Linked DNA regions of Homo sapiens: all the other regions are linked to region 5. Evidence: promoter capture Hi-C in 16 types of primary human blood cells and fetal thymus (Javierre and others, 2016). All regions are on one chromosome and are shown on one strand. The core of a region is centred on a gene start or on the middle of the fragment in contact, and the rest is flanking DNA. Distances in the headings are between cores, read along the strand shown. Region 1 holds the start of ZNF8 (zinc finger protein 8). Region 2 holds the start of ZSCAN22 (zinc finger and SCAN domain containing 22). Region 3 overlaps ZNF274 (zinc finger protein 274). Region 4 holds the start of ZNF582 (zinc finger protein 582). Region 5 holds the start of ZNF547 (zinc finger protein 547). Region 6 holds the start of ZNF544 (zinc finger protein 544). Region 7 overlaps ERVK3-1 (endogenous retrovirus group K3 member 1).

Evidence for each region. The method cuts DNA at HindIII sites, captures the fragments that hold promoters and counts their contacts. A CHiCAGO score of 5 or more calls a contact.
Region 1: the fragment with the promoter of ZNF8 here is called in contact with the fragment with the promoter of ZNF547 in region 5 in 1 of 17 cell types (non-activated CD4 T cells); the score reaches 5.8 in non-activated CD4 T cells.
Region 2: the fragment with the promoter of ZSCAN22 here is called in contact with the fragment with the promoter of ZNF547 in region 5 in 1 of 17 cell types (neutrophils); the score reaches 5.7 in neutrophils.
Region 3: a contact is called between a fragment that was not itself captured here and the fragment with the promoter of ZNF547 in region 5, in 3 of 17 cell types (naive CD4 T cells, non-activated CD4 T cells and naive CD8 T cells). The highest score is 7.3, in naive CD4 T cells.
Region 4: the fragment with the promoter of ZNF582 here is called in contact with the fragment with the promoter of ZNF547 in region 5 in 8 of 17 cell types (naive CD8 T cells, naive CD4 T cells, total CD4 T cells and 5 more); the score reaches 16.3 in naive CD8 T cells.
Region 6: a fragment that was not itself captured here is called in contact with the fragment with the promoter of ZNF547 in region 5 in 1 of 17 cell types (non-activated CD4 T cells); the score reaches 7.5 in non-activated CD4 T cells.
Region 7: a fragment that was not itself captured here is called in contact with the fragment with the promoter of ZNF547 in region 5 in 1 of 17 cell types (fetal thymus); the score reaches 5.3 in fetal thymus.

What each region holds. Positions count from the first base shown.
Region 1 is chr19:58,277,535-58,280,837 of GRCh38, reverse strand. ZNF8 (zinc finger protein 8) reads right to left here and starts at 1,883. Exons shown (of 4, transcript NM_021089.3): 1 at 1,691-1,883. The coding sequence starts at 1,756. ZNF8-DT (ZNF8 divergent transcript) reads left to right here and starts at 2,096. Exons shown (of 3, transcript NR_187495.1): 1 at 2,096-2,315. ZNF8-ERVK3-1 (ZNF8-ERVK3-1 readthrough (NMD candidate)) reads right to left here and starts at 1,872. Exons shown (of 7, transcript NR_144447.1): 1 at 229-1,872. RefSeq lists enhancers at 1,288-1,337, 1,758-1,807. The HindIII fragment of the contact is 22,069 bases long and covers 1-3,303 here.
Region 2 is chr19:58,325,150-58,328,339 of GRCh38, reverse strand. ZSCAN22 (zinc finger and SCAN domain containing 22) reads right to left here and starts at 1,346. Exons shown (of 3, transcript NM_181846.3): 1 at 1,226-1,346. LOC105372480 (a long non-coding RNA gene) reads left to right here and starts at 1,092. Exons shown (of 3, transcript NR_144444.1): 1 at 1,092-1,517; 2 at 2,979-3,168. RefSeq lists enhancers at 1,046-1,375, 719-1,461. The HindIII fragment of the contact is 13,061 bases long and covers 1-3,190 here.
Region 3 is chr19:58,200,092-58,203,153 of GRCh38, reverse strand. The region is part of intron 4 of ZNF274 (zinc finger protein 274); the gene reads right to left. Among named protein-coding and RNA genes, the nearest start is that of ZNF274, 19 kb to the right of the region's middle. The HindIII fragment of the contact is 4,047 bases long and covers 1-3,062 here.
Region 4 is chr19:56,391,952-56,395,117 of GRCh38, reverse strand. It overlaps ZNF582 (zinc finger protein 582), which reads left to right and starts at 1,584. Exons shown (of 5, transcript NM_001320371.4): 1 at 1,584-1,898. ZNF582-DT (ZNF582 divergent transcript) reads right to left here and starts at 1,442. Exons shown (of 2, transcript NR_037160.1): 1 at 1,065-1,442. The HindIII fragment of the contact is 9,401 bases long and covers 1-3,166 here.
Region 5 is chr19:57,362,296-57,365,341 of GRCh38, reverse strand. ZNF547 (zinc finger protein 547) reads right to left here and starts at 1,791. Exons shown (of 4, transcript NM_173631.4): 1 at 1,639-1,791. TRAPPC2B (trafficking protein particle complex subunit 2B) reads right to left here and starts at 1,791. Exons shown (of 2, transcript NM_001355204.2): 1 at 1,639-1,791; 2 at 1-527. The coding sequence starts at 508. The coding sequence ends at 86. RefSeq lists enhancers at 1,739-2,118, 2,159-2,238. The HindIII fragment of the contact is 1,910 bases long and covers 500-2,409 here.
Region 6 is chr19:58,225,912-58,229,033 of GRCh38, reverse strand. ZNF544 (zinc finger protein 544) reads right to left here and starts at 120. Exons shown (of 7, transcript NM_014480.4): 1 at 88-120. RefSeq lists an enhancer at 1-244. The HindIII fragment of the contact is 1,137 bases long and covers 1,223-2,359 here.
Region 7 is chr19:58,307,149-58,310,313 of GRCh38, reverse strand. All of the region lies in intron 2 of ERVK3-1 (endogenous retrovirus group K3 member 1), which reads right to left. The region is part of intron 5 of ZNF8-ERVK3-1 (ZNF8-ERVK3-1 readthrough (NMD candidate)); the gene reads right to left. Among named protein-coding and RNA genes, the nearest start is that of ERVK3-1, 3.4 kb to the right of the region's middle. The HindIII fragment of the contact is 5,065 bases long and covers 1-3,165 here.

The DNA of each region.
Region 1 (3,303 bases), core at 634-3,133, 920 kb before region 5:
CCATGAGGCAAGGAATAGAAGGTCTGTACCTCTCACAGCTGGAAAAGACGAGGAAACATTCTACCCTAGAACCTTGGTAGGGAGGGTAGCTCTGCTCATACCTTGATTCCAGACCAGAAAACCGATTTCAGACTTCTGACCTCCAGAACCTAAGAACAAATGTTTTAAGCCACAAAATTTGTAGTGAATTGTTACAGCAGACACAGATAACCAGATAAAACACTGGACCTTGAAGCTCTCCATTCTGGTCCTTGTCTCCTGTGATGGACAGTCTCCAAGATGCTCCCCCACCACCTCTGCCAATGACCTCCAGCCCTGGTGTGGTCCCCTCCAACACTCAACAAGGTTGACTTTGTAACCAGTAAGACACCGTGGAAGTGACAAGAGTGTGAATTCTGAATCCAGGTCATGGAAGGTGTTACAGTTTCTACCTTGCCCTCTCCTGGATCACTTGTTCTGTGGGAAGCCAGATGCCATGTTGCAAGGATCCCTAGCAGTTCCAAAGAGAGGCCTACATGGAGAACAACTGAGGTCTCCTATCAACAGACATGTGAGTGAGCCATCCTGGAGGTGGATCCTCCAGACTCAGGTCTCAGGTGACAACAGCTATGCTGACATCTTCACTGTAACTTCATGGGCCTGAACCAGAACCACCAGCTAGGACATTCCATTACTCCTGTCAGAACTCGTGAGATATTTATTGTTGTTCCAGGTCACGAAGTTTTGAGTTACACAGCAACAGGTAACTAATACACTTTCTCTCAAGCCTTTCTTACGACTCATTCCTTGTCCCCCATCCACAGCAAGAACAAAATAAAACGTGGTAGCATTTCATGCAAATTTGGAGCAACACACATCTGAAAACCTGCAACCTAAGATTATCAAGTCTCACTTTGTGTACCAAATCTGAAATAATGCAAATCCCCATGAACAAACCAACGACAAAAAATAAAAAAAAGTATAATTTCAAAGTTGCAGAGCTTGAGGAAGGATAATTATTGTTGTTTCCTGCCACGCGAGGCAGCTTTATGGAGAACACAGGCCGCAACCACTTTGTCTAGAAAGTGGAGCTCTGATGGCCAGATGGCCCTGCAAACACTGACCGCCCTGCACTGCAGTTCTCCCACAGTCTCGCAGGGGACGACCCTGGTGGTCACTCTCATCACACTCAGTGCGTGGTGACCCATCATTGCCCCCAAGAGGTTGTGCCCAAGCCCCAGGGCAGGGGCTCCGCGGTGCTGGGGTCCCGGTGGGTGTCCGCTGACTCCACGCGTTAAAGCATCTCTATTCGATGATTCTTGCCATCTGGGCACCCGGCCAACGCTACAATTACTGTTATCAGTCAACACGAGGACAGACCTTCCTGGAATGGGCAAGGGTGTCGGCGGGGCGGAGCAGAACGCAGGAGATGGGCCTGCTCGATTCTCTCGGGAATGACCGACCCCAGCCCTGGGGAGGACAGAGCCGCGTGGAGCATGCGCATTCGGGGGCCAGGCGCCTGGTTGGAATCCCGGCCCCCTCTCTGACCAGCCAGGACGGTCACCACGCCCCGACCCGCGTCTGAGTTTCCCCACGTGTCAAGGGCATTAACAGCGGTGCCGCTCTCATCGCGCCGCGAGGTGAAAGGGTCAGTCTGCGCGGGAGACGCTTGCCCGGAGCCCGCCGCCGTCGTTATTGTTGTTATTGTTACCTGAAGCCGGGCCGCCGGCGGCCCCACAGACATCACTCCCGCTACCCCTTCGTCCTCGGGGTCCATGCTGGATCGCCCAGTGAAGGACAGCGCCTGAGGTGATCCCCAGACCAGAGAGGCACTCCAGCCAAAGGGACCACCCGACTCGCCGAACGCCGGACAATGGCGGCCGCACCGGCGACGCGGCGACTACAACTCCCAGTAGGCCGTGCGGCGAACCACAGCCCTCGGCCAATGGGAGTCTCCGCTGGTCTGGCCTTCGACCAATGGAAGCATTATGGCCGATGGCCAATGGGAGCCCCCACCCGCTGGCCTCTGGCCAATGGGAGCACTCAGCTAAGGCTGGTGGGGGCGGTGTTGCTCGGGGCTGCGATGCCCCTTAGGTTGCGGGCAACCAGAGGCCTCACTCGTGGGCAGGAAGCAAGGGCGGACCCCGAGAGATGACTGATTGTGGGGGTGGGGACCGTCTGCTCCTCCTAATGGCTGGGGACCGTGCACGTCTGCGCGGGCCGGACCTGCTCTTCTCGGGAACTTGCGCGGGAGGAGGCCCGGAGCTGCGCCGCTTTACCCTCTGCTCCCCGGTGCCTAAAACGCACACGCATCAAAGTCACAGGACGAGTTAGAGGTTTGTTCATATAAAAGACTTTGGGCTTAGCGGCTGGAAGCGGGGAGGCTGGGAGCGGTGGTTGTGTTACAGGAAAGGGGTCCGATTCAGACCCCAAGGGAGGGTTCTTGGATCTCGCGCAAGAAAAAATTCAGGGCGAGTCCGCAGTGCAAAGTAAAAGCAAGTTTGTTGAGAAAGTAAAGTTGTGAAACAGCTACCCCATAGACAGTAGGACGTTCCTGAAAGTAAGAGGAACGTATGCACCCTAGGTACAATGCTTGTGTATATTTGGGCTAAAAATAGATTTTGGGGAGATGTGCTCTGCTACAAGGGTTTGTGAAAAAGGATTAATTTTCTTACTGTATTTTTCAAGAATCGATATTATTTTTAAAGCAAAATTAGGAATGCCTTTGTTCTCTAGATACCGGGATATCTGGACACTCCCAAGTCTGGGTCTGTTTTAGTACCCATTATTAATTTGTTCCCTTAACCGTAAACATCTAGAGGTTAGGAATACCTACTTTTCTGGGAATGCAGCCCAGCCTCATTTTCCTAGCCCTCACTCAAAATGGAGTCGCTCTGGGTCGAATGCCTCTGACAGCCCTATTGCTTCTCCCTGTGGGTGTTCACTTTGTGATGTGTCTTTTTCTGTGGGTCTGTTGTAGTCCATTAAAATGTTTATTAAAGGTCGGGCGCGGTGGCTAACGCCTATAATCCCAGCACTTTGGGAAGTCGAGGCGGGTGGATCACGATGTCAGGAGCTCGAGACCAACCTGGCCAATATGGTGAAACCCCGTCTCTACTAAAAATACAAAAATTAGCCCGGCGTGGTGGCGGGCACCTGTAGTCCCAGCTTCTCGGGAGGCTGAGGCAGGAGAATCGCTTGAACCTGGGAGGCGGAGGTTGCCGTGAGCCGAGGTCAGGCCACTGCACTCCAGCCTGGGTGACAGAGCAAGACTCCGTCTCAAAAAAAAAATAAAAAGTTATTAAAAAAGAAAAATGGGGAAGC
Region 2 (3,190 bases), core at 97-2,596, 960 kb before region 5:
ATCCTCTCTCATATGCTTGGTAAACTGTTTGTGGATCACCCAAGTTTTAGTCTCCCTGATAAAAATCTCAGTCAATCAGATATTAACACATATTATCTCAGGTACAGTCTGTCAGCCACAGCCTTCAAAATACCCAGACACAGGAAATATCTCAATGTCACCTATAATCAGTCAAATAAACACAGGCCTGGCCAGGCATGGTGGCTCATGCCTATAATCCCAGCACTTTGGGAGGCCTAGGCAGGTGGATCACCTGAGGTCAGGAGTTCCGGGCCAGCCTAACCAACATGGTGAAAGCCCGTCTCTACCAAAAATACAAAAATTAGCCAAGTGTGGTGGCCGGTGCCTGTAATCCCAGCTACTCGGGAGGCTGACGCAGGATAATCGCTTGAACCCGGGAGATGGAGGTTGCAGTGAGCCGAGATTGCGCCACTGCACTCCAGCCTGGGCAACAGAGCAAGACTCCGTCTCAAAAATAAACACAGGCCCTCGCAGCATTTCCATCACACAGTATTATTCTGATCACAGTCATTCATAATCTTAGTCACCATCTCAAGGACACACAAAGAAAATCAGTCACACTTGAAATCCCACCGTCACACGCTCACCCTCTCACAGTATCTCACAACCCACGTAGGAAGTCTCAAACGGCAACCATCTCTGTCAGTCACACACTCCATGGTTAGTGTTACACTCAACCTATCAGAATCACACACTCCAACCCGTCAGATACACACACCCAAGAGGTGTCAGACACAGAACCGCCTATCAGACACATAAACGGGTCCGCCCCACACCCTCCCAGGCCACTGGTCCTACATTTTATCTGTTATCTGTCCGCCCGCTCCACACTTCGTCCGCCCCACACCCGGTCAATCAGTCCATCCGACACACACTCCGTCAGTCCGACACATTCTCCGTCGGTCCGTCCGGCACTCAGTGTGTCATTCCGCACCACATTCGGTCCGTGAGTCTGTCCACACCGGGTCCGTCAGTCCGTGCACACACGGTCCGTCCACGCCTGGTCCGTCAGTCCGTCACATCCTCTGCGCGTGTGTCCGGCACTCGCAGTCCGTCTACTCACGTCCCCTAGTCAGCCTCTCACTCTCTACCCGCTGGGCGGTACCCCGCATCTCGCTCTGGCCGCCCCAGAGGTTCGCGGCTTCTGGACCTGCTGTGCCCCTCTCCAGCCTGGATCAGGACGGAGAACACCCCCGAAACCCACCTCACCAGCACAGCCGGCGGACCCTTCCGGAGGTGGCCGCAGAGACTAGCCAACTTGCGCGCCCGCCGACCCGGACCACAGCTCCCAGCACACCTCAAGGGCCCACGCCCGCCAGGACTACAATTCCCGGCGTCCTCCGGAAGCTCAAGTGTACCCAGGCGCGGTGCCTGCTGGGAATTGTAGTTGACGTTGGTCAGCACGGAGGCCACAGGATCCCAGCCCGGCCTTTGTGGGACTGAGGTGGCGCTGAGTGGGAGAGCAGCAGGCGATGCGCGAAAGGCGGGACTTGGAGGTGAGGGAAATGTGAAGGCTGAGGGTGAGAGTGCCTGTGTGAGGCTGAGGGTGCCTGTGTGAGGGTGAGGGTGAGGGCGGCTGTGTGAGGGCTGAGGGCTGAGGGTGCCTGTGTGAGAGCTGAGGGTGCCTGTGTGAGGCTGAGGGTGCCTGTGTGAGGCTGAGGGTGAGGGCGGCTGTGTGAGGGCTGAGGGTGCCTGTGTGAGAGCTGAGGGTGCCTGTGTGAGGCTGAGGGTGAGGGCGGCTGTGTGAGGCTGAGGGTGGCTTTGGGAGGGCTGAGGGTGTTTGTGTGAGGGGTGAGGGGTAAGGGTGAGGCAAGAAAATCGGGTCTGGAGGCAGGGAACCTAAGGACTTCCTAGAAGTAAATCAAATGGAAACTGCAGCTATGGTAGGAAATATCCTCTCCATTTATGCAGGGCGTACATGGAGTAAATCACTTTGTAACTTTACTTCGTCCTCTTCATTTACATAGGGCATATACCAAGTAACCAATGGAAACCTCTAGAGGGTATTTAAACCCCAGAAAATTCTGTAACCGGGCTCTTGAGCCCCTATGCTCCGGCCTGCTCCCATACAGTGGAGTGTACTTTCATTTTCAATACATCTCTGCTTTTGTTGCTTCATTCTTTTCTTTGTGCATTTTGTCCAATTATTTGTTCAAGATGCCAAGAACCTGGACACCCTCCACCAGTAACAAGGGTACCTGGGTGAGAGGTGAGGGTGCCCATGTTAGGAGTGAGGGGAGAGGGTGCCTGTCTGAGGGCTTGTGGGTGTGAGTGTCTGTGTAAGTACTGAAGGTGCCTTTGTGAGAGGTGAGCGGTGTGGTTGCCTATGTCAGGGTGTGTATTGAGTGTAGCTATGTGTGGCTCTCTGTGAACACATGTAATCATTTTTATAAATGTGTATCATTTTTTACTGAATTTGAGCTGGGCGTCTGTCTGCATGAGTCACTCTGTGACCAGGTTTGTGGGTTGTTCTGTGTGCTTACTCTGCGTGTGTGTGACCTGTGATTTAATCATCATATGTGATAATCATGCAGCTGTGTTTGCCTGCACCAGGTGTAATTGTGTCTGAGACAGATACTTAGAGGTAATGGGGTGGACCTGACACAGTATAAAGGCCCTAGACTGTGTGTGATGTTGTTACGGTGACTGTGAATGGTAGTGTGATTGTGTGATTCAGTCGATGCCTGGACTGTGTGTGAGAATGTATCTTCTCTGTGTGTGTGTGTATGTGTAAGAGACATTGAGCAGGAGACTCTGGCTTGGGGCCCGATACATAGAGGTTGGTGGCCCAGCCTATGTTCAGGTGAGGCCTTTTTGAGGCAGGGTGTGTATGATTGCTTGGTGGTGCTGGTGGTGTTTCTTGGCCCCAGCCTGTGCTCACATCCCCTATTATTCTCAGACTTTGCCCTGCAGACTGCTAGCAGCTGGAATGAGCATATATTCTTTTCCTTCCACAGATAAATACTGAGCACCCACAACAGGCAGCCAGCACCACTGCAGATTGGATACTGCAATGATGATAAGCATGGCCTGCCTTTATGGAGGTGATGTTATTGTGTGGGGAGGCAGATGGTAAACAAAGAAGTCATTTTTCTGAGAAGTTGGTATTTAAGCTGAGGCCTGAATAGAGCGAAGAACTCAGGGAGAGTAAGTTCAAGGTAGATGGAAC
Region 3 (3,062 bases), core at 155-2,654, 840 kb before region 5:
CCAGCACTGGGCCACCAGTACTATTTTAGGTAACCATGCATGACACTTAAACATCTTAAACGTTACTTCATAAATTTCTAAAATTTCATTTTTGTATTCCTTAATCGAGGGATTTTCATGCCTTGGCCCCTAGGAAAACAACTGTTGGATTCTTCTACTCCACCCCACCCCTTTCTAATGTACTTACTTCTGCTTTAATCTTTATTATTAACCCATGAGGCCCCACACTCTGTTCTGTACACAGTTATCATAAAGCACCTTTTGCATGCTGTGGAACCAAGGACACCACAGTGAACAGAGAGACCACAAACCCAGAAACTGGTGAGGAAGTGATGGACTCATTCTGTGCACCTCAGTCCTCCAAATGTCAACCCATAGACTATCCCAAGACCTTTAGGGCAATCCTTACCACTGTCTATTGCAGGAAATTAGCTGCTCCACTTCATGGAGGAGAAAATGGAAGCTCTTAAGTTCACCACCAGGCAGAGGTGGAACTGGATTCTCATTCCACCCATCTCATTCCACAGACATGACTGACCCAACCCACTCATGTGGAGCTGCATAATCCCTATCAGCTGGAGCTCCAAATGGCTTTCAGTCCAGCAACTGAATGAGCCCGTAGCAATGTAGTCACCTCACCTACAACTGTCTGTCTAATGGGTTGTGAAACAAATTCACTGAGGCTCAAAGCAAGGGGTTTAATCAAGAGAGATTAACTTCTTGAGCCTGAGTTTCTTCACCCAAAGTGATGAGATACCAAAGTCCAGGCACAGCATGTGGTAAGGGCTTGATGGGAGCTGCTGCTTTCTCCCTCTTGACACTATTTTCTTCTCTCAGGATACTTCTACCTCTCTGCTGCTTCCCTTCCAGGGTGACAAACAGGCCTTAGGCAGCTGTCTTCCTCACAGTGCTGTTTGCCAGTGAATGCTGATTAGCCAGGTATACCAGTCCAAAATATAACGAAAAGCAATGATCTTTTTAGCAGCTTGTGGGGGAAAAGTCAGAAGAGTACTTACCCTCAGCTCCCCTAATCCCTGGGCACAGTACCCCATCACTTTTCCTCCTTGTCTGGAAAGCTCTCAGCTCTCCTGTTCTCTCTCATCATTCCCTCAGTGCCCCTAAGCTCCCTGTTGGATTACCTTCTGCATCTGTCTCCTCCAGTGTACCACTGAGGCTGCCAACTGGGACTTGTGGATCTCACACCCCTAAGTAGAGGATCTGCCAAAGGCTGCTGATCATCTTTACGTTACTCAGTTTTTGAATCAATGACAGTACCATCATTTCACGAAGGCTGCCCACAGTCCCAGGAAGCAAATGTACACCATACACAAAAGAAATATGCCTGGTGCGGTGACTCATGCCTGTAATCCCAGCACTTTGGGAGGCCGAGGTGGGCAGATCACAAGGTCAGGAGTTTGAGACCAGCCTGGCCAATATGGTGAAACCCCGTCTCTACTAAAAACACAAAAGTTAGCTAGGCGAGGTGGCGGGCACCTGTAGTCCCAGCTACCTGGGAGGCTGAGGCAGGAGAATCACTTGAACCCAGGAGGTGGAGGTTACAGTGAGCTAAGATCACACCACTGCACTCCAGCCTGGGCGACAGTGCAAGACTCCATCTCAGAAAGAAAAAAAAAAAAAAGAAATTCATGCTGGGATAGGCTAGGAACCCTGCCCAGGGTTGCAGAGTGGATGATCCGGTTTGGTTCTGTGTCCCTACCAAATCTCAGGTTGAAAAGTGATGCTGTGTTGGAGGTGGGGCCTGGTGAACCTTCAAGAATGGCTTAGCACCATCCTCCTGGTGGTTAAGTTAATCACACGAGATCTGGTTGTTTAAAAAAGTGTGGCCGGGCAGAATGGCTCACGCCTGTAATCCCAGCACCTTGGGAGGCTGAGGTAGGTGGTTCGCTTGAGCCCAGGAGTTCTAGACCGGCCTGGGCAACATGGCAAAACCCCATCTCCACAAAAAAAAAAAAAAAAAAAAATTAGCCAGGCGTAGCGGCATGTGCCTGTAGTCCTGGCTACTCAGGAAGCTGAGGTGGGAGAATCGCTTGAACTCAGGAAGTCGAGGCTGCAGTGGGTCATGATCGCACCACTGTACTACCGCCTAGGTGAGAGTGAGACCGTGTCTCCAAAAAAAAAAACAAAACAAACAAACAACAGTATGCGGCACCTTCTTCCTCTCTCTGGCTGCTGCTTTTCCCATGATGTGCCTGCTCCCTGCCTTCCACCATGAGTAAAAAGCTCCCTGAGGCCTCCCCAGAAGCCAACCAGATGCCAGTGCCACCCTTGTACAGCCTGCAGAACTGTGAGCCAATTAAATCTCTTATCTTCATAAATAACCCAGTCTCAGGTATTTACAGCAATTTAAGAACGGCCTAACATAGTGGGCAACAAAGGAGCCGGGTTCCAAACCCTGTTATTTCATGTCCTTGACGCTAAAGGGGTCTCCCACAGCCACCATCTTAGTTTTCCTAGAATATGGCCTTTCATCCAGAGATCCACATGTGCACCACCCTCCTGCCTGGTATAGTCTTCCCCAACATCTTCGCCTGGTTCACCTTCCCCAACATCTTCACCTGGTTCGCCTTTCCCATTCAGGTCTGAGCTCAAACGTCACCTCCTCAGAACCATCTTCCTACTTAGTTCTGAACTACTGCTGCCCACCCGTACCTCGCTTGTCCCCCACCAATGTATCCCATTGTTTCCTTCTCTTTCCAACACTCATTACCATCCCAAATATCTGATTCATTAATTTATCATGTCTATCACCCTATCTAGAGCAGTGCTGTCCAATGGAACTTTCTATAAATGAGATGTTCTAGATCTGTACTGTCCAACATAGTAGCATTAGCTGCAGGGCCAATGAGCAGTTGAAAGGTGCCCAGTGCAATTGAGGTACTGAATGGGCAACTTCATTTTTGTTGATCCAATCAGCCATGGAATGGATGTAGGCCCAATGAAAGCAGGTGTAAGACCTGCCCCACTCATCACTGTGATCCAGCCCTGGAACAGTACCTGGAATCCTGGCAAGTGCTCAAGTAATATTTGTTGATTCAACACAG
Region 4 (3,166 bases), core at 335-2,834, 970 kb after region 5:
CTTGAACTCGCAACACTGTCTTGAACCACAAATAAGGTCAAGTAGGATAAATCTACAACTGTCTCCTCAACTGTCCGCTCACAAGTGTGAAATTCAACCATCCTTGCTGAAGTTGTCTTTTAATATCAGTAATCAGCAATAACCAACCTCTGAGCTTTGCTTATATTATTAAATCATTTTATTTGACCCTCAGGACAAAGCTGCAAGCCCAGCATTACATTCTTCCTTTTATGGACAAAAAAAAAAAAACAAAACAAAACCGAGATAGGCACGAAGAAACTAATAAATGGCTGAAATGCTATTTGAATCCACATCTGTCTAATTCTAAAAGTGTGCTTTCCACCACATCACCGCACCTACAAGGAAAATGCAGCCTCTACCCTCTCCTGAAGAATGTGTAAAGAGGCAATATGGTGTGTTTTGGAAAAAGCATCTTTGCAGAAAGAAAGCATTAGCTTCAGTCATATTAGCATCCTTATCCAGCAGCAGTAGCATTATTTTACATATCAGTTACTCCTCCCCAACAACTCAATGAATTAGATGCCACAATCATCCTCACTTTCAAATGTGGAGACCGAGGCACATCTCTAAGACTGGAGTTCAGGCATTCTGGCTCCAGTCTTAGAGATGGTTAAGGGTTCACACTCTTAACCATTTATTACACCATAGAGCTCACCAGGTTTGAGGGAAACAGGATCAAATCAAAAGAGTCACTCAGGACTCCAGTCCTCACTCAAGGACAAACTGTTCCACCTCGGACAGGGAGAGTTTCCGCATTCTGAGACCCAGCATAACAGGTCCTGACCGGCATCTGGCACTCGGACTCCCAATCATACTGGATCACACTGGCTCGGGATGTGTAAAGTCCAGGGCTTCTCACATTTGATGACACCAAAGCCGCCTAAAAACAAGAGAGAATTAACAACTACCTACGGCGGTCTGATATTTGCCCAAGAGATGCCGCCCCATAAAACTCCTTTACATCTTTATAACGTTTTTATTTTGCGTTCTCCTTCATAACCCACATTTAACTCACCATAGATGTAATGTTTAAAATTAGTTACCAGATAAACTCTTACGCTTCCAAACTTTAAGGTTCCTTCGAAACCTTCTGGTAAAACTGTTGTTCCACGGAAATGGGAACGTAACGGATGAGGCAATCTTCCACAGCCGCACACAGTTGTGTATCCACCGCTAAACGGTCCCAGTCATACATTCAACGACCCACGCGGAGTCAGAAGCTACCACCACACACTGTCAAAATCACGCACACACAGTGACGGCCCCTTGCCCACTCGGTCACTCGCCCACAATCTCTCGCTAGAGAATCACACGCAGATAGCACACCCAGCACCACAGACCCCAGGAAGCAACCCAGGGACTCGAACACACGAACAGCACTCCTCCGCGCACTGCGCAGGCACGCCTGCGTCCGGCTCACCCTGAAACATCGCGAGATCCGGCTTCAAGGCCGGGCTGCTGCCTTTACGCCTAAAGACTATGTTTCCCGGAAGACACTGCGGCGCCGGCCCTATCATGGCGCAGCATCGGTGTGCTTTGTGCGTCTGCGCCATCTTCCGGCTGCGCACGGCGAATCCACCGGTACCGTGGTGGAAGCGCGCCCTGGGCTGCCGGGGGCGCGGCCGCGGTGGCACTTGGACCCGAGGAGGCGGCAGGTGAGAGGTTCCGGAGCTTTCCAGGCGCTCTGGGGTCCAGCAGGAGCTGGTGCCCGGGCCGGTTGGGTCTCAGGCCTGAGAAGAACGCAGACGTCTCGCCTCATCGTCGCTCTGTGGCTTTACCGGCGTGAGACTACATTTCCCGCCGGCCCTCGCGGCGTGCGCTTTCTGGCGCCCCCTTTCTGCTTCCAGCCTCATAGCCCAGGTGCATGGACCCCTTAGGTGGGTGCGCAGGGGTCTCCGACCCCCTGAAATTGCGGATGTTTTGCATTCACTGTTATGCGTGCCTTTTTTTTTTTTTAATCTGAGAGGAAATCTTGTTTCATGAGGTTCTCAGAGAGTTACAAGACCCCAGAAGACTTAGAACCGCTAGTTTAGAAAAACTTATACTTGGGAACATTTTATATGTTCAAATTCTATGTCCAGCAATGGGGAAACACTTGAGTGGATCACAGGCCATCCTTTGTAAATAGGATATCGTGCAGTTAATACAAATAATGCTTATAAAAGTGGTCATAATAAGGAAAAGCTGCCTATTACATCATATTAAGCAACATTCATAATTATTTCACTTACACGTTACTTAGAACCAAATGTTTGTAATGCAGTAGGCACCTTATATACTCCTTTACAGAGTACTTCTTGTTTAACAGTGAGCTCAAGAACTGGTTAAATGACAACACTGCGAATACTTGGGTGTTTTTTCTTCCAATTTTTTTGTTTTGTTTTGTTTTTAGCCTGTGTGTTAGTGAGTTTGACTTCTTTTTGCTGAATGTTCTCAAAGGATTCAGTAGTTAATATCTTTGCTTGTCAGTTTTTGATAGTCATTTTTGATAGTCACTTGGCATCCCATTATATGGCTGTGCCAAAAATGATTCAACCTCTTGGCTACTTGTGGACTTGCCTACTTACGTACTAATTTTCAGTTCTCCTATTTAGCAAATATTATTGGACATGCAGCTTTGTGCACTGCTGTGTCTCTATGGAAGGACACATTTATGTGCTGATAATGGAGCACTGGGCGTGCTGTGTGTAATTTGTCTCTTACTGTTCCTTCCAACTCTATCCCATTTGTTGATGCAAGGCATGCTCCATGAAGTGGCATGCACAAAGCCTCAGTTTGGGCTGTAGAGCTTTTTGTATATTTGGCGGTTGGGAAAAGAGCCAGGTAGACTTTCAAAGGTGTTATATTTGCTGCAGGAGAGAGTTAAATGGCCTAGTCCTGGAAAGGCTTTATTCTAGGCTGGGGCTATGCAAATGATGCAGGCCTTCTATGCTCCCTGGCTTGAGGGAAGCCCTCCTTGTCCTTGAGGTAACATGTGGGTCTCAGTCACTAGAACAGCCCTCAGCATCCCTGTCTTAGACTTGCATTTGCAGCAAAACAGAACCACTGGATGTTTAGGGGAAATGGGAGGGAAAGGACCACTGGTTCCCCTTTGCCTTGCAGCAGCTAAAGCTGGTTTCCTGGGGTTGGGTGAGGATCCCTTTGC
Region 5 (3,046 bases), core at 542-3,041:
GCTATTTAATCAAGTAATTTACAATGTACACATTCCTGAGTATACACCATTGTGGTGATATAATTTATTTTGGAATTTTCTCCATTCAGCTTAAAAGGTGTTTCTTCCCAAGAAACTGAACTTTTCTGTCAAATGCACTTGATCGAATAGGAGAATTGGGTTCATAAAATGGATTCATTGAAAATTTTATATATAAATCATAAACATCAGTAAAGAAGTTCTTTATTCCATCTTCTTGTCTTATGTCATGAAGCATAATAAACCTCATATGCCCCGCGGTGACAAATGCTGACACAAACCACTCGTTGAACTTGTCCACAGTTTTCAAGTACATGTTGTTCGACAGCCACATGTTCTCATCTACGAGGTCGAGAGCAGCATGAGCTATGAACTGGTTCAGATGACGATGGTCGTCTTTGGATTCTGCCTTCCCAGCTGGCAAAAACTCCATTTCAAAAACTGGATTATCATGGTGACCAACAATTACAAAGTAGAAGCTTCCAGACATGGTCTTCAATATATGGCTCCTGCAGCGGGAGGCCGACAACGGAAACGCAATGTCAGTTTCCGCGGAAGAGACCCGCGCTCCGCACCTTTTTTTGACACGGAATCTCGCTCTGTCGCCCAGGCTGGAGTGCAATGGCGCGATCTTGGCTCACTGCAATCTCCACCTCCTGGGTTCAGGCAATTCTCCTGCCTCAGCCTCCCGAATAGCTGGGATTACAGGCGCGCGTCACCACCCCCGGCTAATTTTTGTATTTTTACTAAAGACGGGGTTTCACCATGTTGGTCAGGCTGGTCTTGAACGCCTGACCTTGTGATCCGCTCGCCTTGGCCTCCCAAAGTGCTGGGATTACCGGCGTGAGCCACCACGCCCGGCCACCCTCTATTCTTTTGAAGAATCTACACCAGTTCTCCTCTGTAGACTCCACACCTTTCTGTCCCCCTACCCATGTGACATTTTCAACTTGAGACGCCTGAGAATCACACTGGCCAAACTCCAACCCATGATCTTCTCCATGAAACCTACTTCTCATGCTGCTGACTTCCCCAACTTCATTCTTTCAGATGTTCGGGCAAAAAAAAAAAAATGACCCTTCACTCCCTATTTTTGCTCACAGACATATCTGATACGGCAGGAAAACCTGTTGGCTCTATCTTCCAGGTCTATCCAGAATCCCATCACATTGTCCCTCTTATACCACGGCTCTGGTGCAGCCTCTGGGATCCACTGCAGTGGCCTCTTCTGGGTCTCTCTGTGTCAATTCCCCATCCTGCTCGTTCTAACTCTGGACCTGCCCCTCCCACTGGTCTTCCCTTGACAACCTTCCATGGTTATACCGGCTGCTCAGGCTGCCATTCCAAGAGAAAATTCACAAAACCCTCTCTTTCCCGCAGAAACAACCCACACTCCGGGCTCCCCGACGCGGCCCACTTGGCAGCACCTCCATGCTCTGAACCTGAGATCCCCGAAGGGAGCTCTGAGGCTGCATCAAACCAGCTGATACGGGGACCCCACACAGGAACGCCCCTCTCTTCGAGACAAGGGGCCTGACCTGCAGGGCCCCTTCTATGGGCTTCAGCACTGGAAGGAGGGGTCGGGCGGAGGTGGGGGGGGGCCTGGGACGGGGCACCCACCTCGGGTTCTTCGGCGGGGACTCCGCAAGTCCAGCCAGGGAAGAGAGGGGCGGGGGCGACAAAGGCAAGACAAGGACACCGCCGTCCCCAGTCCTTGTCAGCTGAGCTTCTGCCACTGTCAGTTGTGCCTGTGTCACTACCGCCTCTGCGTACAAGGAACCAAGCCGCTTCTCGCGCTTTTCCGCTCCGTCACTTCGGTGACGTCATAGAGCGCCAAAGGCCGGAACTAGTGAAAACACCAGAGAAAATCAAATCAACCACGGCAAGAGGACGCCGGAAGTCCCGCCCTCCTACGATGCGCGAGCACGAGGACGGACGCACGCACGCACGCACGCACGCAAAGGTTCCTTCCTGCACATTCATTGGGTCAGTCGCGCTGCCGAGAACCGCAGTGTCTTCTGGGTTATGAAGTTTCGACACCGCTTCTGGACTTGCCTTAGAGCGTTGGTCAGTCCTTATATGGCGGATAGAGGCTCAGTGGCACCGTCAGGGGAGCTGGTAAACAGAGTGCCGGACTCCACGGACAGGACGGGGCTTGGGTTGCTCTTAAAGGCGACATAACCAGATTTTCTTGAAGTAAGGTCTAGGATACTCACAGAAATGTGAGGGACCTATGATATCGGATTGTGAAGCACAGCAAGTTCTCAACGGCTACACCGCCAAAGGGACACACTATACCACAAAGGCACTCTGTCTCTACTCATGCCTCTCAGCCATATGTTGCTTTTCAAATACACATACAGTTAAACTTTGACTTCTATTTATTAAGCTTCAATATGGTTGGTCCAAGAGAACAAAGAAAGACTACATGGCTGGGAATTTGCACAAAAGAAGACAGGAGATACCGACGTAGATTGAAAGGGTGACGCTGTGCCTCTGGATCCAGAAGAAAACATCATTACTGTCTGTAGAGTCAGTGATTGTGTTCCTACCAAGAGTGCAATGCTTTTATTCTAATAATACTTATTACTTCATGTCTGAAATATTTTACATTTATTTTAAAAGTCTCAATCCTGTCTGAAAATGAGAGTGACTGATACATGCCATTTCCTGACAGGACATTTTGTGCCATTCCATAGTTGGAGTATATGTACACAGGGAACGTATTATCCCCAATAAAAACTGTGAACTTTCATGATCTTATCTCCTTCCTGAGAAGTGAGTTATCATTTTACAGGGAGTTGAAATTATCTGTGAAAATACTTGTGAAATGAAAATTACAGAAATCTATTAATAATAACTGTTAGGTTTTGAAGGGAAGGCGAGGGTTAAAGAAAGGCAGAGTTGGCAGCTCTACAGCAATGCAGGTTTTATGTCCAGCACGAGACCTGTGATGGGGAGAACTAGCTTAGTGCCAGAACCCCTCACTGCTTACAGGCTGGGGCAATTATAGGCCTGGATGAGAGGG
Region 6 (3,122 bases), core at 542-3,041, 860 kb before region 5:
TGGGGCGGCTCTGGCCTGGTCCTGCGCTCCGGCCGCACCCGGCTAACAGTGAAACCTCCGAGCCAACCTTGAGGCCGCCAGACTCACCTGCACGCACCGGCCAATGGCGGTGCTTCCGGTGGCCGGCGGACGTGCCCGCGCTCCGCGCAACAAACAACTCCCAGAAGGCCGCGCGCCGGTAGCCGTTGCTCCCACAGGCATAGTCATTGCCGGCGGGAGCATGGGGCCCCGCGGCGGCGGGATGAGCTTTTTCCTGTGTTCGCGACTAGCATTGTGGCTTAGGGAGTTGCTTCCCGCGGCTCTGCTCCTTGCAGCGCCTGTCCCCTCCCCCTTAAACGGGCCACGCTGGTTCTCATCCAGCAACCGAAGCCGAGACTGTGGAGGCGGCGGTCGGCGTCCAGGGCGGGACTAGCGCCTATGGGGCTCGGCGCTGTCATCTCGGGTGCCTTCCCGGCGCCTTGCCCTGCTGGGGAGAGAGACCAAGACTGAGCCATGAGAACAGTCCAAGGCCGTTAACCGGGAGCTCAGGGGCAAGGGCGCCCGCCAACATCTGCGCCTGTGGCAGGGACTCAGGGACAGCCTGGGCGTGGGGACGCGTCCTAGTGATAGAAACAAAGCCCCGGGAGTGCCCTGCTTGGAGCATTCCGAGTGGAAGGTGGAAGCACGCTAACTGGAGGCGATTCGTCCTAGGTGATCGCTCAGTCGAGCCTATTTGGCTTTCTGTGGTAGCTCCTAAGTGGGACAGGGAAAAAAATAGGGAGGCTGGCAGTGACCAAGTTCTGTTTTGTACCTATTGCTGCAGAAGTTGTGGGACAGAGTTCTGTTATTATAAATGGTCTGATGTTCAGTCTCAGTGCGTTGTGGGGCTCAATGTCTGAGACCCACCACCGCCTGACCCGTCCTGGCTCTTCAATGAGGGAGACCACAGGAAACTTTCCTACGAAGGCCAGGTAGGCGGGAACCACTGTGGCTCAGGCACCCTCAGCTCCTGGACTGTGCTTTTGTGTCTGGGGTGCATCTGTGACTAGCCTTCCTTGGCTTGACTGTTTTGTAGCTGACCTTGTCGATAGCTTTACCCAACAGTCATCATCTTTTTACTTGCTTATTTTCATACCTGGCTAGCACGACCCTGCAATTTTTAGATTCTTCCGGGAAATCTAGAATCTAACTCCCTAAGGGAGGATCTTGATGGATTCTAAGCTAATCAGAATGGACTCAAGCTTCTTGCTGTGTGAATTAGGCAAGGATATTCTGGCCAAGGAGAAATAAGGCTGCTAGGGGTTTCCTGGGAAGGTTCCCTCAGTCTTTTTTTTTTTTTTTTTTTTTTTTTTTTTTTGTGAGACGGAGTCTCGCTCTGTCCACCAGGCTGGAGTGCAGTGGTACGATCTAGGCCCACGGCACTCTCCGCCTTCCGGGTTCACGCCTTTCTCCTGCCTCAGCCTCCCGAGTAGCTGGGACTACAGGCGCCCGCCACCACGCCCGGCTAATTTTTTGTAATTTTTCTTTTTTAGTAGAGACGGTGTTTCTCCCTGTTAGCCAGGATGGTCTCGATCTCCTGACCTCATGATCCACCCGCCTCGGCCTCCCAAAGTGCTGGCATTACAGGCATGAGCCACCGCTCCCGGCCGGTTCCCTCAGTCTTAAAAGTGGACATAAGATAGCAATGTGTCTTCTTTTGCCCCTGGACCGTGATGTCTGTATGTGATGTGTAGGACAATTACAAGCACACTGGCACCATGAGGAAGCCACCCCAGGAGGTAAAGGCAACATGCTGAGAATGGCACAGCAGAAAAATGGAAAGAACCAGTATCCATGATGGAATGAATCCTCTTTGTGCCACTGAATCAACATTGCCTATGCTCACCTCAGGGACTTTTCATTATGAGATAATAAATGATCTTGTTTGTTTTTATTATAGAAAATTTCAGGCCAGGAGTGGTGGCTCACGCCTGTAATCCCAGCACTTTGGGAGGCTGAGGCAGGCCGATCACGAAGTCAGGAGATCGAGACCATCCTGGTTAACATGGTGAAACCCCGTCTCTACAAAAAATACAAAAAATTAGCCGGGCGTGGTGGCGGGAGCCTGTAGTCCCAGCTCCTTGGGAGGCTGAGGCAGGAGAATGGCCCTGAACCCAGGAGGCGGAGCTTGCAGTGAGCCAAGATCACGCCACTGCACTCTAGCCTGGGCAACAGAGGGAGACTCCGTCTCAAAAAAAAAAAAAGTTCAAGTAAATAAGAACTTTGATGTTACATTTCTGTTTACTGTTTCCATGTCTGTATCAATAATGGAGTCGTCTGAGGAACAACTTTCCCTACATCAGTGTTTATATTATTCAGTTTTAGGCTTAGTGCTTAAGCTTAGTGATCGCCTTTTGTAGGATTGTGTCATAAGAGCAAAGAATGACCATATATTGTTACATTAAAAATGTTACCTTTGGCTGGGCACAGTGGCTTATGCCTGTAATTCCAGCACTTTGGGAGGCTGAGACAGGTGAATCACCTGAGGTCATGAGTGCAAGGTCAGCCTGGCCAACATGGCGAAACCCTGTCTCTACTAAAAATACAAAAACTAGCCAGGTGTGGTGGTGGGCACCTGTAATCCCAGCTACTCAGGAGGCTGAGACAGGAGAATGGCTTGAGCCCAGGAGGTGGAGGTTGCAGTGAGCCGAGATGGTGCCACTGCACTCCTCCAGCCTGCCTCTGACTCAAAAAAAAAAAAAAAAAAAGTTACTTTTACCTTGATGTCTAAATAAAAGGGAAGAAAATCTTTTAAAAGTTATGGCTGGGCACAATGCCTCACACCTGTAACCCCAGAACTTTGGGAGGCTGAGGTTGGAAGATCACTTGAGACCAAGAGGTTGAGGCTGCAGGGAGTGATGATCTTGCCACTATACTCCAGCCTGGATGACAGAGTGAAACCCTGTCTCAATTTAAAAAGTTCATTGGCCAGGTGCGGTCGCTCACGCCTGTAATCCCAGCACTTTGGGAGGCCAAGGCAGGTGGATCACGAGGTCAGAAGATCGAGACCATCCTGGCTAACATGGTGAAACCCCGTCGCCACTAAAAAATACAAAAAATTAGGCCGGGCACGGTGGCTCACGCCTGTAATCCTAGCACTTTGG
Region 7 (3,165 bases), core at 168-2,667, 950 kb before region 5:
TCTCTCGTCGCCGCACACAGGGAGAGACCCACCGACCCTGTGGGGCTGGTCCGTACACTCTTGATAGTGGCAGTTTTAATGCAACTAGCTACATTTACGACATAGGCTGAATTACAGACAATATTAATAGGAAATAAAGCTGTGAGCTTTAAAACTTGAATAACTGCCATTAATTCAGAGTGTTGAGCTGAAACTCTAGGGGTCTTTATTATTTAAGTATATTTAGGTCCATAAATGGCTGTGTGGCTTTTGGAAGAGCCATCGGTAAAATAGGTCTGTCCACCTGAAATGGGTTTGTGATGAGCAATCACAGGGGGAATAAAAGGGTGAATTTTATAAAACTGCAAAATTTTGTCTGATGGATAATGGTTATCTATTATTTCTACAAAATCTGCGAAAGTGATTTGCCATGCAGTGGACATCTCCCAGGCCGCAGCCTGTTGTTGGGAATCCAAGGTAACAATAATTTTATCAGGATCATATCCTGTAAGCATTTTTGATCTATGCCTGCCTATTGTTATAAGTTGTGTGACTAAAGCAAGATAAACTTGCAAAGATTTTACTGTTTGACTGGATAAAAAAAGCCATTCTATTACCATTATAGTTTTGTCTATGAATTGAGCTAAAAGTCCTGATGGAGAATGGGGGGTAGGAAGAATAAACAAAACCAAAGACTTTTGTGGTTGTAGCCAGGAGGCATGTCGTTGCTGAAGCATCTTTCTACAAGCTGTAATTCAGCTTCTGCCTCCTTAGTAAGTTGCCGAGGGGAATCTAATGAAGAATCTCCTTGGAGGGTTTGATAAACATGAGTGAGTTGATAAGAAGCAATACCTAGCATTGGGCGCAGCCAATTAATATCCCCTAAGTTATTCAGAGTTTGTAATTTGTTCTTACGAAGAGCTACTTTCTGAGGCTGAATACTTTTTTCAGTAACAGTAGTATCTAAGTATTGGTATGAGGAGGTTGTTTGTACCTTTTCAGGAGCTATTTTGAGATTCCATTTAGTTAAAGCCCATTTTATTTCTCTGAATAACTGGTATAATACTTGATCTGTAGGAGTGGCCAAAACAATATTATCCATATAATGAATGATGTAGGTGGTGGAAAACATATTCCGAGGCTCCTTCAATGCTTTTCCTACAAAATGCTGACATAACGTAGGACTGTTGAGCATGCCTGGGGTAATAAAACTTTTCATTGATCACAAGAGACAGGCTCTCTCTGATTAATAGAAGGCACAGAGAAGGCGAATTGAGGCTTGTCCTTCTTGTGTAATGGTATAGTGAAAAAACAGTCTTTAAGATCTATTACTACAAGAGGCTAATCTCTTGGAATGGTTGCCGGGGATGGCAGACCTTGCTGTAATGCACCCACTGGTTTAATTTGTGCATTAACAGCTCTCAAATTATGCAGCAGTTGCCATTTTCCTGACGTTTTGGGGGTCACAAATACTGGTGAATTCCAAGCACTAACTGATACTTTTATATGTCCTGCATCCAATTGCTTTCTTACCAGCTGATGGAGTTGAGTCAGTTTTCTCCTGTGATAGGGGCCATTGATCCACCCACACAGGTTTATCAGTCAGCCACTCTAGCAGCAAGGCAGTGGGTGGAGAAGAAGTATCAATGACCCCTATCAGAAATCCTGATGACCTAGCCCTTTCCTATCTGTTTGCCCAGTTACCGATACCGGACCGGGGTTTCCCTGTAGGAACTTTCCCAAGCCTTTCCCACTCTGATATCCCATTTCCTTCAATATTTTAAATCCTGGATTATCAACCTTTTCATTTGTAAGTCTCACATCCCATGCTGTAAGTAAATCTCAGCCCCAGAGATTAACACGTATATTTGCAACATAAGGTTGAAAAGTACATGGCTGTCCATCTGGACTGACACAAAGTAAAATTTCAGCACTCTGTTAAACACTTTGAGCTGTTCCTACTCCCACTAAGGATGCAGAGGTTAGTAGCAGGGGCCAATTGTTTTTGGATATTACTGAAACATCTGCTCCTGTGTCCATACACCCACAACACTTCTTTCCTTTAATTTGCACTGCACAGGTGGGTCAATTAGAAGCTATGGGTTGGGATAGGTAAATTTCCTGTGTAGTTGTACTCCCAAATTCTTGATTTCCTCTTTTCTCCTTTCGTGAAGAAGGGTGTAATTTGCAGAGAATAATAATAAGCAATAGCTGAGCAATATATTTCCCAGGTTTAAAAACCCAAAGATCTTGTGACATTACAATTACTTGAATTTCTCCTTCATAATCAGAGTCAACAATCCAGGGATCACAGTAATGCCCTGTAAGTTCAGATGGCTTTGGCCTAAAATTAATCCTGTATATCCTGTTGGCAAAGGTTCCCAAATGCCTGTGGGAATTCTGGTGGGTTTGTCTCCTCCAACTAACGTGACCCATTCTCTGACTGAGCGATCTAATCCTGCACTCCCCGGTGTTCCAGAGGAGAGGGAGTCAATGTTCCTCCAGGAACCCACCCCTGTAGCAGGGTTGTGGCCTGGATGGGGAATGCCCTCATTGTTTGAGGGGCCCAGGCCCCATTCTCATTTCCTGAGAGCGGGGTGCCATTCTGATGAAATTTTGAGCAACACTGATTAGCCCAATGATTTCCTTTATTACGGCGAGGGCAAAGTCCTGGTGTTTTTTTTTCTGTGTGTGTGTGTTGGGGGGAGCGGGGCGGGGAGGGGGGGGCGGTATTGCATTGTAAGATCCCTTCTGCCCAGAGGTCTGATGGTATTCTTTTTTGAAATGTCCAATTTTTCCACAATTATAACATTTTCCCACTTTAGGGCTCAACCCTTGGCCCTTTTCAGATTTGTTCACTACTAAATTAGCTATTACTTGAGCTAACACAGTTGAACGATGGAGTTCAGTTCCCACATCCTGACAGGCTTTGAGAAAATTTCCCAAGCTGTTTGTACATCTCACGGGTGCTAATGCACATTTACAATCTGCATTTGCATTTTCAAAAGCTAGGGTCAAAGTAAGCATTTTCGCAGGAGCAGTATGAGGAATCTGATGCCTCACTGACTGTTGTAACTGTGCAATAAATTGTGCAAAGGGCTCCTGTGATTTTTGCATGATATGCGGAAAAGATTTTATTGAGACCCCTTTCTCAGGAATGGTGGCCCAGGCACGCTTAGCGGCCAG